2 separate regions of the Homo sapiens genome follow, and region 2 is linked to region 1. The links are contacts of gene promoters, found by promoter capture Hi-C in human tissues and cell types (Jung and others, 2019). All regions are on one chromosome and are shown on one strand. The core of a region is centred on a gene start or on the middle of the fragment in contact, and the rest is flanking DNA. Distances in the headings are between cores, read along the strand shown.

What was found. Contacts are between HindIII fragments. The study calls those that stand out against the background at their distance.
Region 2: a contact is called between a fragment that was not itself captured here and the fragment with the promoter of DSCC1 in region 1, in 2 of the 25 tissues and cell types used here (lymphoblastoid cells and mesenchymal stem cells).

Annotation. Positions count from the first base shown.
Region 1 is chr8:119,853,578-119,858,769 of GRCh38, reverse strand. It overlaps DSCC1 (DNA replication and sister chromatid cohesion 1), which reads left to right and starts at 2,876. Exons shown (of 9, transcript NM_024094.3): 1 at 2,876-3,156. The coding sequence starts at 2,975. It overlaps LOC105375728 (a long non-coding RNA gene), which reads right to left. Exons shown (of 4, transcript XR_928590.3): 2 at 3,968-4,095; 3 at 2,891-3,364. RefSeq lists a silencer at 2,725-2,784 and an enhancer at 2,895-3,204. The HindIII fragment of the contact is 8,457 bases long and covers 1-5,192 here.
Region 2 is chr8:120,503,971-120,509,162 of GRCh38, reverse strand. It overlaps MTBP (MDM2 binding protein), which reads right to left. Exons shown (of 22, transcript NM_022045.5): 16 at 2,302-2,457. Among named protein-coding and RNA genes, the nearest start is that of MTBP, 61 kb to the right of the region's middle. The HindIII fragment of the contact is 4,501 bases long and covers 1-4,249 here.

The DNA.
Region 1 (5,192 bases), core at 1,627-4,126:
CACACACCTGTAATTCCAGCTACTCGGGAGGCTGAGGCATGAGAATCGCTTGAACCCAGAAGGCAGAAGTGAGCCGAGATCGTGCCACTGCACTCCAGCCTGGGTGACAGAGCAAGACTCCATTTCAAATAATAATAATAATAATAATAATAATAATAATAATAATAATGTGTAAATGATGGCTGAAATTAAACATGCCTGGCCACACAAGCACGAAAGTAGGGAAGGACGGGGCCATCTGTAGGTTTGGCTATCATGTGTGTGAAGAGTACTCAGGGCCGTGGAGTCTGGAAAGGCAGAACGGACACAAAGCACAGAAAACCAGAAACCAGCAGAGGTTTGAGTATGAGCTTTGACAGGAGAGGGAGTGGTTGATGATGACCTGTGAGCATAGTGTAATGTCACTAGAGAACTTCATGTTCAGAAAATTAATCTGACTGTGGTATACAGATGGAGGGGCAGTGGGAAGGGGGATGAAAAGCAGGAAAATCTGTTAGAAAGTCACAGTAATAAGAATAAGGACCGAAAGCAAGGCCACATTTTCAGTTTTTGGAATGTCTGGAAGTGACTGTGTTCCTTTTTTTTTTTTTTTTTTTTGAGACAAGAGTCTCACTCTGGAGTGCAGTGGCATGATCTCCGCTCACTTCAACCTCCGCCTCCTGGGTTCAAGCGATTGTCCTGTCTCAGCCTCCAGAGTAGCTGGGATTACAGGCGCCTGCCACCATGCCCGGCTAATTTTTTTGTACTTTTAGTAGAGACGGGGTTTCGCCATGTTGGCCAGGCTGGTCTCGAACTCCTGACCTCAGGTGATCTGCCCACCTTGGCCTCCCAAAGTGTCGGCATTACAGGCGTGAGCCACTGCACCTGGCCGTCACTGTGCTCTTTATTGAATAAAAAAGAAGAGAAGAGAGGAAAAGAAAAGGAAAAAAGTTCATACATGATTCTATAATATGAACTAAGATTTAGTAAATAAAATTCTCATTTCATGCCATGAAACACAATATATGAGCAATATAATCAAGAGTACAGTGTCCAAGAGAACAGAATCAATTTTAGCTGATTCTGTTCTCATGAACAGAACTTTTGAAATTTATTATAACTGTTCATTTTTTTACCTGATAAAGAATATTTTTTTCCTGCTACCAGATGAATGATTAAGCCAGCTTCAATCGTTTTTTGAAAAGGTACAGAAAATTTCTTACTTTAGAAAAACATATTAACATAATTTTAAAGAATGAATTAATAAAAACTATCATCATTTTGTCTTATGAGAGGAACACAGGTCCAGCTCCCTGACAGAATATCAAATTAATGGCAATAATTTCATACCATTAATTGGAAATTAAATTCATAATGATTAATACATAAAAACAAAAAGAACTGCTGCCATTTATTAAGCAGCCATGCATTTTAGAATGTACATCTTAAGAATGTAGGTCTTATGTGCTTTTTTATCGATAAGGAAGTTGTACTCAGAGAAATTAGGTAAATTGCCTTAGGTCACAAAGTTCTGAAGAGAGTTGGGATTCGCAGCCATGCCTGTCTGATGTAAATGTCAGGGTTCTAGTTGACACTGCTTCTAGTTGTAGGGAATGTTTCCCATTTAATAGAGCAACTACAATGGTTGATTCCCTTCAATAATAACTTCTTATCAGGCAACCACTGTCACATTCAGGATTTCATTCCACCGAATTCCTATGCATTCAAATGTAAAAGAGGCTAGTGAAGAAGTAGGTCACATGAACCAATCTTTCCACCACCAACGAAAGCACTGCCCAGACTCCTGGGATGCCCTACTCTGGTATTTTCGTATCATTTTACCCAAGAATTGAAAAAAATGTCTGCTCAGATCCTTTGAATTCAACACCTTACCCACCACTTTCTTTCACTTCAAGCAAGGTCTGATTTGCACTAACTAGTAGGAGGTCACCATCTCTTAAGTGATTCCTCCCAGACTATTTTAGCTCTCAGGGACAGCCAGGGCCCTCAACGATTCCCTAAGCATCTCTGGGAAAGTTTACACATTACGCTGTTACAAGCAATTCATGTATGTGTGCATAGTGAAAACCTTTTCTCTTAAAACTCTTAATACTGAAGTTCCCCAAACCTTTGGAAAATGTACAAGTCACAGATGCTCCTGTGACTTGTTTTTCCCTTCGGGTGCGTCCTCAACCTTGCTTAAATAAACCTCTATTGAACGAGACCTGCATCAGTCACTTTTCGGTTAACACTAGGTATTCAACGAATAGACTAGTCCCGCCGTTGTCTCCAGATATGATGGTGCCCTGACCCAAAGAAGCGAGATACTCCTTCCCAGGGCCTCGCTCCCGAGCATGGGTTATTTGCACAAAACCCCGCAGGAAGCTTTTAGAGCCACAGTCGGCTAGGCTGGAGTCAGACTCTGTTACCTCCTGACTCTGCCATCACGAGCAAGGAGCCTGCTTCCTCATTGGCAAAAGGGAATGACCAAGGCACCACCTTACAGGGTTGTGGCAACGGGCTCATGGAATTATACATGCCAAGTGGTTATCACAGGGCCCGCCACTGGCGGAAGGTGAGACAATGTGGACGGCGAGGAAATGGGAGCATCGGCTGGAAACCAGGGACGGAGATCGGGGATGGGGGGCGGGCAAGGGGACAGCGGAAAGGGTGGGCGAGGGATCCGTGTCCCAACCCGCCGAGTCGCAGCTCTGCCCCTGCGAGCTTCCGCCGAGACCGCCCCCCGGGAAGCCGCGTTTCCTTCCTGCAGTCGCGGTCCGGCGTGGGGCACGGAGGGGCTCGCGCTCCCAGAAGCCGGCAGGCCTTCCCGCGGGCGGGCCCGCAGCGCGCTCCGCCCCGGAAACACGCCCATGGCCGCCTTGGCGCGCTTTCAAACGCTCAGGTTTCCTACCTTCCGGCTGCTTGGGAACTTCTTTCTTGCCCGCCAAGCCCGCAGCCACCCGGGCGCGGCGGGACTCCTAGACCCGGCGCTGCGATGAAGAGGACCCGCGACGAGGTGGATGCGACGCTGCAGATCGCCAAGCTGAATGCGGCCGAGCTGCTGCCGGCGGTGCACTGCCTGGGCTTCGGCCCTGGGGCCAGCGGCGCTGCAGCCGGCGACTTCTGCCTGCTGGAGCTGGAGCCCACGCTGTGCCAGCAGCTGGAGGATGGACACAGGTGAGCCCTGGTCACGCGGCGCCCCCAGCCTCTGGCCGGCCACGTTATTTTCTCAGCGGGGAAAGTCGGGATAAGAAAACAGGGCCAGAGAGATGCACTGACCTGGCCGGGGGCTCATAGCAAGCTGCCTGTTCCCGAGGAGTCCACGCCTCCGGTGGGCCGTCCAGTTAGCTGCACTGCGGTGATGAGTAGCACTGGTCCAGCTGACCTTGGAGGCATGTGTCAGCGGGAGCAAGTCAGGAAATACTAATACAACCTCCGTGAAGTTTTTGAAGAGTTACCGGTGATTACAGGGACTCTACAGGACACCTGTCACTCTACCTTAAAATACAGTGGTGATACCCAATGTTTATAGAACTCTTGCCTTCCACTTATATTTATTTTACTCAGATGATAGATAGGAAGTGCTGGGAATCAGCTTACAGACTTGGTAATTGGGTGAGACCCCTACCCACCCCGAAGCAAACTTGCTTAGTAGGGATCTGAAGCTGTTTCTAATTCCAGGTCAGATACAAACTTGCTGCAAGATCATTGATTAGAAGTCGAAGTTGAGGTAGTTTTTTAAAGGCAGTCTTGAGAAGTCTAGAGAATCGTTATATCCCTCCACCCTGTGCAGCCCCAGCTCCTGCAAAATAGGGAGCTCCAGCTTGATTCTCTTTTGCACAATTGGTCCTCCGACACCTATATTTTATTAGGCTATTTTTTCTCTTTTTTCTTAATGGAATCCTTTAGGCTGTCTTTCAGTTTTCGTACTTTGCCCACCAAAGAGTGTTAGAGTAAACTGGCCATTCTTCAGATACCTGCTATATACCTCAAAGTACCTTTAAGGGAACTGAAAGAACTTCACTAGTCTGTTTCCATCCCGGTTCAGTTGGTGGAGAGTTGAGAAAGGAACTCAGGTGTGAGGACTTTCTCTCGGTCCAGTTCTAGTTAATCTAGCTGGCAAAAACAAAACAAAACAAAAACAAAAAAATAAAAACAGGCCCTGGAAACGTGTGTTTTTAATTTTGGGGTGTAGGGAGTGATGGTATAAACAAAATATTTCAAAGTGGGGGTAGTGCAGTTAGAGAAATAAATGTTAAAGACTAGGTACTTGGGCCTATTAAGCATTATTAGCATTAGGAATCTAAAAAACCTTTTATTCTTTTTACTTAAATGAAGACTTAGTCAAAAATAAATACACAGTCTGCTATTTCAGGTTTCTTATTATTTATTCAAAAGAAACGAGTTGTGCACAGGAGAATTAAATGCTTTACAGACAAGGAAAACTGCTAGAACCAACTCCCCTGTCATTGCCATCATCTTTGTCTTTAATCCTTCCTTTTCCTCCGCTTCACCTTCATCCTTTCCTCTTCCTTCTTTTTTCTTTATCTTTTTTTTGGGGAGAGAGTGGTGGGAACAGGGTCTCACTCTGTCAGCCAGGCTGGAGTGCAGTGGCACAATCACGGCTCTCTGCATGATGGTGCCATGACTACTTGGGGTCAGGCGATCCTCCCACCAGCCTCCTGAGTAGCTGAGACTTAAGGTGTGCATCATCACACCCAGCTAACTTTTAAATTTTTCTTTTGTAGTGATGGGGTCTTGCTATGTTTCTCAGGCTGGTCTCAAACTCCTGCTCTCGAGCGATCTTCTGGCCTCAGCCTCCTAAAGTGCTAGGATTACAGGCATGAGCCACTGCGTTCTTGCTTTTCTTCAAAATCCCTTTGTCAAAGTCTTTGGTTTAGTACAGTTTTTAAACATATCCTTTTCATATTTTTCATTCACCACTGCATCCTTTTTTTCATAAGGTCCCAATTTTTTTGCAACACAACTTATGGTTAGGCCAGGATGTGCTCCTTTGATTGTGAGGGGGTACTCAGAACAAAACAAGGACGACACTTGGGTGGGGTACCATGAGCAGCAGCTTGGCCTTGGCCTTTCTTCGGGAACTTGTTAGAAATACGGGACCCTGGGTCCCATCCTAGACCCAGTGTATCCCACTCTGCTTTTGAACAACACTCTCTAAGATGCCTATGCATAAATTTGAGAAGTACCAC
Region 2 (5,192 bases), core at 750-3,249, 650 kb before region 1:
ATCTTTCTTTGCTTGAGAATGTAGTCACTGGCACCTACTTTAAGAGTCAGCAACTTTTTAAATATCAGAGGGTATAGAGACTAACTGCTGAGTTCAGTTCTTTTTCTGAAGTAGGTTTTCAATCAACTGGCATGTTAGAACTAATCATATGTCGAGTTTACATAAAATATTCATGTTCAAGCCTTTCCACACCTAGAACTACAGCGATATATCAAAATCTGGGAAAGAAGAGGGTCACTGCAATTAGATTAAGCTCTCTGGATTATTCCGATAGGTGCCGTCCTTCTCTGAGCTGGAAACCACTGTTGTAATGTAATGGATCATGGTCCTGAAGCTCAGAAGTTCAGGAAATGGGGAAATTATGCAACAGTGGTCTTTAAATAGTTACTAGGTAAAATGAAATACCAGGGGCTTGAGTTCAGAAGAGTTGGAAATGGTATGTAGAAGGGTAAGTAAATAGTAGAGTACTAAGAATAAATTTGCTATCACATTTTCCCCCCTATGGCATTGGTAATGAAAACTGTCCTGCCACTGAAAATTATCTAGGGTACTATGATAAGCATTCGAAATTATTACATTAAAATGTAAAATTCATGCCAATTAATGAATCCTAAAAAGCAGACATTATATTCAAATGCATCCATTTAAATTATTCCACAAAAAGTAACATTAGTAAATTACAATGACCCCAGTATTTCGATGATTATTAAAATAATTTTGTAAAATGGAAATCTTTATCTAGCATTTTACTTCTTTCCTTTACCATATTGTCTCTCATTTCTCATATCAATCGCCCTCAGCAACCTTACCTATTTTTGTTTAATTTCACTCACAAGTTTTTCTTTCTAAAATAAACATGTTGATAAATATGTGTTTTGTCAATGTTTATTATTTCCTTGGTATATACATAGGAGTCATGTTTGTACTTTGTTTAACACAGTATTTTGGATGGCTTCTTGTGCAGGTAAACATTTAATAAGAGCATATAGGTTCCTGATTTATTACCATGAAAACTCATCCTTCAACTCTAATGTTAACAGAAGATACATTTGATAGCCATGCAGTTCTTTACTAACATTGAAGAATCACATCAAATTTTCCTAAATAAATCACCTACAATTAGTTTCCAGAAAGAACTAACTTTATCTCCCCTACAATGCATCTAGAAAGACATTCTGTAAAAAGAGTACAACTTACATAAATAATTCAGTTTAGGCAAACCAACTGACTCTGCCAGTTTGTGCTTAATGATTTGAAAGGACAGTAATCCAATAACTAAATAGATGAAAACATGTATATTTCTTTACTTTCTTGATTCCCACAACAAAAGGTTATCAATCTTTCAAAGTTATGGGAAAAAAATTACTCCAAAATTATATAATTTTTATGTCATTAAAATCATTAAGTCATTAAGACTCTCAAATTTTCAGTTGCTCTTTATCTCTCTCTAGTGAACATGCACATAAAGCAATAATGTTCCAGCAATATTTCTGAGATATAACTGCCTTCAAATAACTCCTTTGCAAAATTCACCTTTAAAGGCAATATTTATACAGTATAATTCCGATTAAGCTTATAAAAGTGATCAAAGTGATCTACAATTTTTAAGGTCTTTTGGAAGGTTTTCAAAGTAATGAATTAACAATTAAAAAGACATTAGAGTAATTAGTAAATTATTCAATTCTCACAGGTATTTGATGTCACAATTTTACAGTCAATTTTGTCAAAGTCAGCAACATGCAGCATTTATTAACTAGTAACTTAGTGAAAACTGTCTTGGAAGTCAAATTAGTTGTAATTTATTCACGTAGACACTGAATTCTTACTTGGCAATGTCATAGTTTCCAAAGCATTTTTATTACATTTTCCTGTTCTTCAGGTGAAAGGCCATGCTTTTTGCTACTATTAGGCATGCCTGACAATGCTCATGCTGAGTAGTGGCAATATCAACACTACAGTAACACAGAAAAGAGAACTAAAAAAAAAATTTTGTAAGTCAAATTCCTATTTTTTTTAGAAAGCATTGTCCTTTGCATACCAAATAGAAGTTACTGACTTCTACAGGGAATATGGTGAGTTTGCTTTTCTTATTCCTGTTTCTCTTATATTCAATACCACAAAACAGTAGGATATTTTGATAAGGTAAAAAGTGAAGATTAAGGCCAACAGACAAACATTGGGATCAAACTTATAAATTTTCCCTGAGTAGCATAGGACATCAATTAATAAGGAAATGAGACACAATTTTATTTAAAAGTAATTTTTAAAAAGTTAACTGGAAATTATAAGTTTATAACCTACCCCTTTTGAATCGGTAAAGGTTGAAGATCTCCAATGGGTAATCCATCTGAGGTAAAGTACTTCAGCAATTCTTTAGCATCCAACAATGTGATTGAGTCCCGAGGACCCTCTTTGTGGCCCAGCAACTGTTCAGATGAATGAGGTAATGAACCAGTTCTGGGAAAATAATGTTATGCAGATTTATTAAAAGTGGATTCAATCCAGAGAGAAGCCAGAGTCAAAAAAAAAAAAAAGCACAGTCGGGAAAAGAAGATGTGAGCAGAAACCAGAAAAACACACCAGCAACATGGGAGAATTAAACATTTAGGACAGACAATAAAGTAAAATATTTGCAAATAACTTAGTTTCTAACTATGTTTTAAAAAATCTTTAGGTCACAATAAAACTTGCAGTTATCATGTCAAGAAGTAGTATTTTAACTACTTAAAAGAAACATAATTACATTATCTATTAATGATGGCCTATTATTCAGTGGTGTGAAGTTACCAATTCTATAAAACTTAAATCTAAATTCTCTTGTATGTTCTGAAACCCCACAATACTATAAATTTTTGAGGGAAGTGACTGAATGTTCCAATTTTCCATGAACTGGAAAGATTACTTGAAGCACAACCGTGAAATGAGACAATAATCAGAAATCTCCCCAAAGTCTCTTGTAGCCATGATGATGACATTATGAATAAGCACTGAATCATTATTATATACCTGAAATACATGCAGGACTTTATATTTTTCAAACTACTTTACATATAATATATTCTTAATCCTCACAAGTTTCCTTGAAAAAGATGGAATAGGTCTTATCTCAAAATGAAATAATAACTAAAAATAAGTACTTTGTAAAGTGAAAATCGGCATGCCAAGCTTAAAAAGCAATCATTATTCCGACTTGTCAAGTAAAGATGCTAACATACAAAAGGTTACATTACAGACGCAGGGTGATACAGCTATTTAAAATGATAGAACCAGACTAACTCCAAATTAGTTATTATTTCTACTCTATGACCCTATAAATGAAAAAAAACTCACAGAAAGTTTTAAATACCGGCAAGTGAAAAGCACTGTAGTTTCAGTTAGATGTTTCCAGTTAGAGGTTTCAGTTAGAGGTTTCACTATGCACTGAATCAGATCACCTTAGCTCTGTTACCATAGCATAAATAAAATATTTCAATGTCTGCACAGAAAATTAATTTCCTAACTTCATATTAACTCAACTATTTCCTGATTATTACTCAAATTAAGCATAATTACTGATAATTACATGATTAAAATGTTGACATTACAGTTTTAAACATATTTCTGTATATTAAGGGTCAATAAAATACTGACAGTGCCTCTTTCCTCTTCCTATTCCTTTGTTTTTAAACTGAAAATATTAATCTAATAAAAACAGTCAACAAAACACTCAAATTCTCTCCGGACTTCATACTCCAGCAGGGTGGGAGCTATACAATGATTTTAATTTGTAAAGATACAGTGCCTGTCTCAGTGTCAGTGGTGATGGCCCAGAATAAAGCCCCTGTAATTTAGTGCTGGGTGAAGCACCAATGCTTCCTGCCTGCTGATACCCTAAAGTATGCCCTAAAGTGAAGCCTGACAAACATTCTCTACCCCGGCTCTCCCTTCTCCTAACATTAATATAAGTGAGAGACGTGGGGAACAGGACTAAACCTATGGAAAGAAAATACATGCCAACTACCTATAGAAAGCAACAGGGCCCTATATTCCTAGTTATGAAGAGACAATCAAGGACAACCAGACACTGGAGAAAAATTACACATAAGAGAAAAACACCAGAAGAACAAATAAAACAGCTGCAAATGGAAATGAGATAATTCAAGAAACAGATAAAACAAATTTAAAGAAAATTCTAATTAATATCCTTACAGTATCATCTCAAGTCTTATTAATAAAAGAATAGGTTGCTAGAAAAAATACAGCAGAAGAACAAGAGCAAACTATTAGAAATTTAAAATATGACTACCAAAAATTTTAACAGAAAAGATGAAACCAAAGGTAAAGGAAATTCCCCAGAACATAGAGCAGAAAAGTTAGAGATAGAATATTAAGAAAAAAATCAAATTAAAAAACATCAATCCAGAATGTTTAATATTAATTAAAATAGGTATTTCAGAGAGAAAGAAAAAAAGAAAATGAAGGGAAGAATAGTATTGAAGAAATAATAAGATATTTCTCAGAGCCACAAAAAGACAAAAGACTTGAATCTAAAACATCTCATACCATGGCCTCTTGTAATTTCAGAACATTAAAGAAAATAGAAAATTGTAAAAGTTTTAGAGACAAAATAAAATACTTATTGAGGAACAAAAATCGATGTGGCATCAGACTTCTCTTTAATATATGAAATCCAAGAAAATACAGAACTAATCTAAAATGTAATCAAAAGAAATACCAGGATAACAAATATGCAGGTAGAGTCAGCCAAGTTAGAGTAGGAACTCAGAGAGAAGAAAAATAAAATTAAGACTTGTATACTGCAAATAGCATAAGGTTTAGAGATAGAAGATAAAAAGGGAAGAAAAATAAGGGTGTTAATTACTCATCTTTCCCAGTGGGAAGTTATAAGATATCATCTAAAATTGGTAGGCAAGAAATTGAGGTTCTCTCATGGGGAACCTGTCCTTTTCTCACTCTTCTTTCTTGTCTTCTCCTGCCTAACCTATAAACACCAGGGATTCTTAAGGAGTGGTCTTAGCCTCCATTTCTTTTTGCCTCATAGTCTCACCATGTAACTCATCAACCATCATGTATTTGGAAATCCCTACTGATGATAACTCCAAATTGAGTGAGTTCCAGATATCCCCACAGTCCACTTGTTATTTCCACTTGGATAGATCAAACGTATCATCCCTAAAGAAGAATTCTTGACT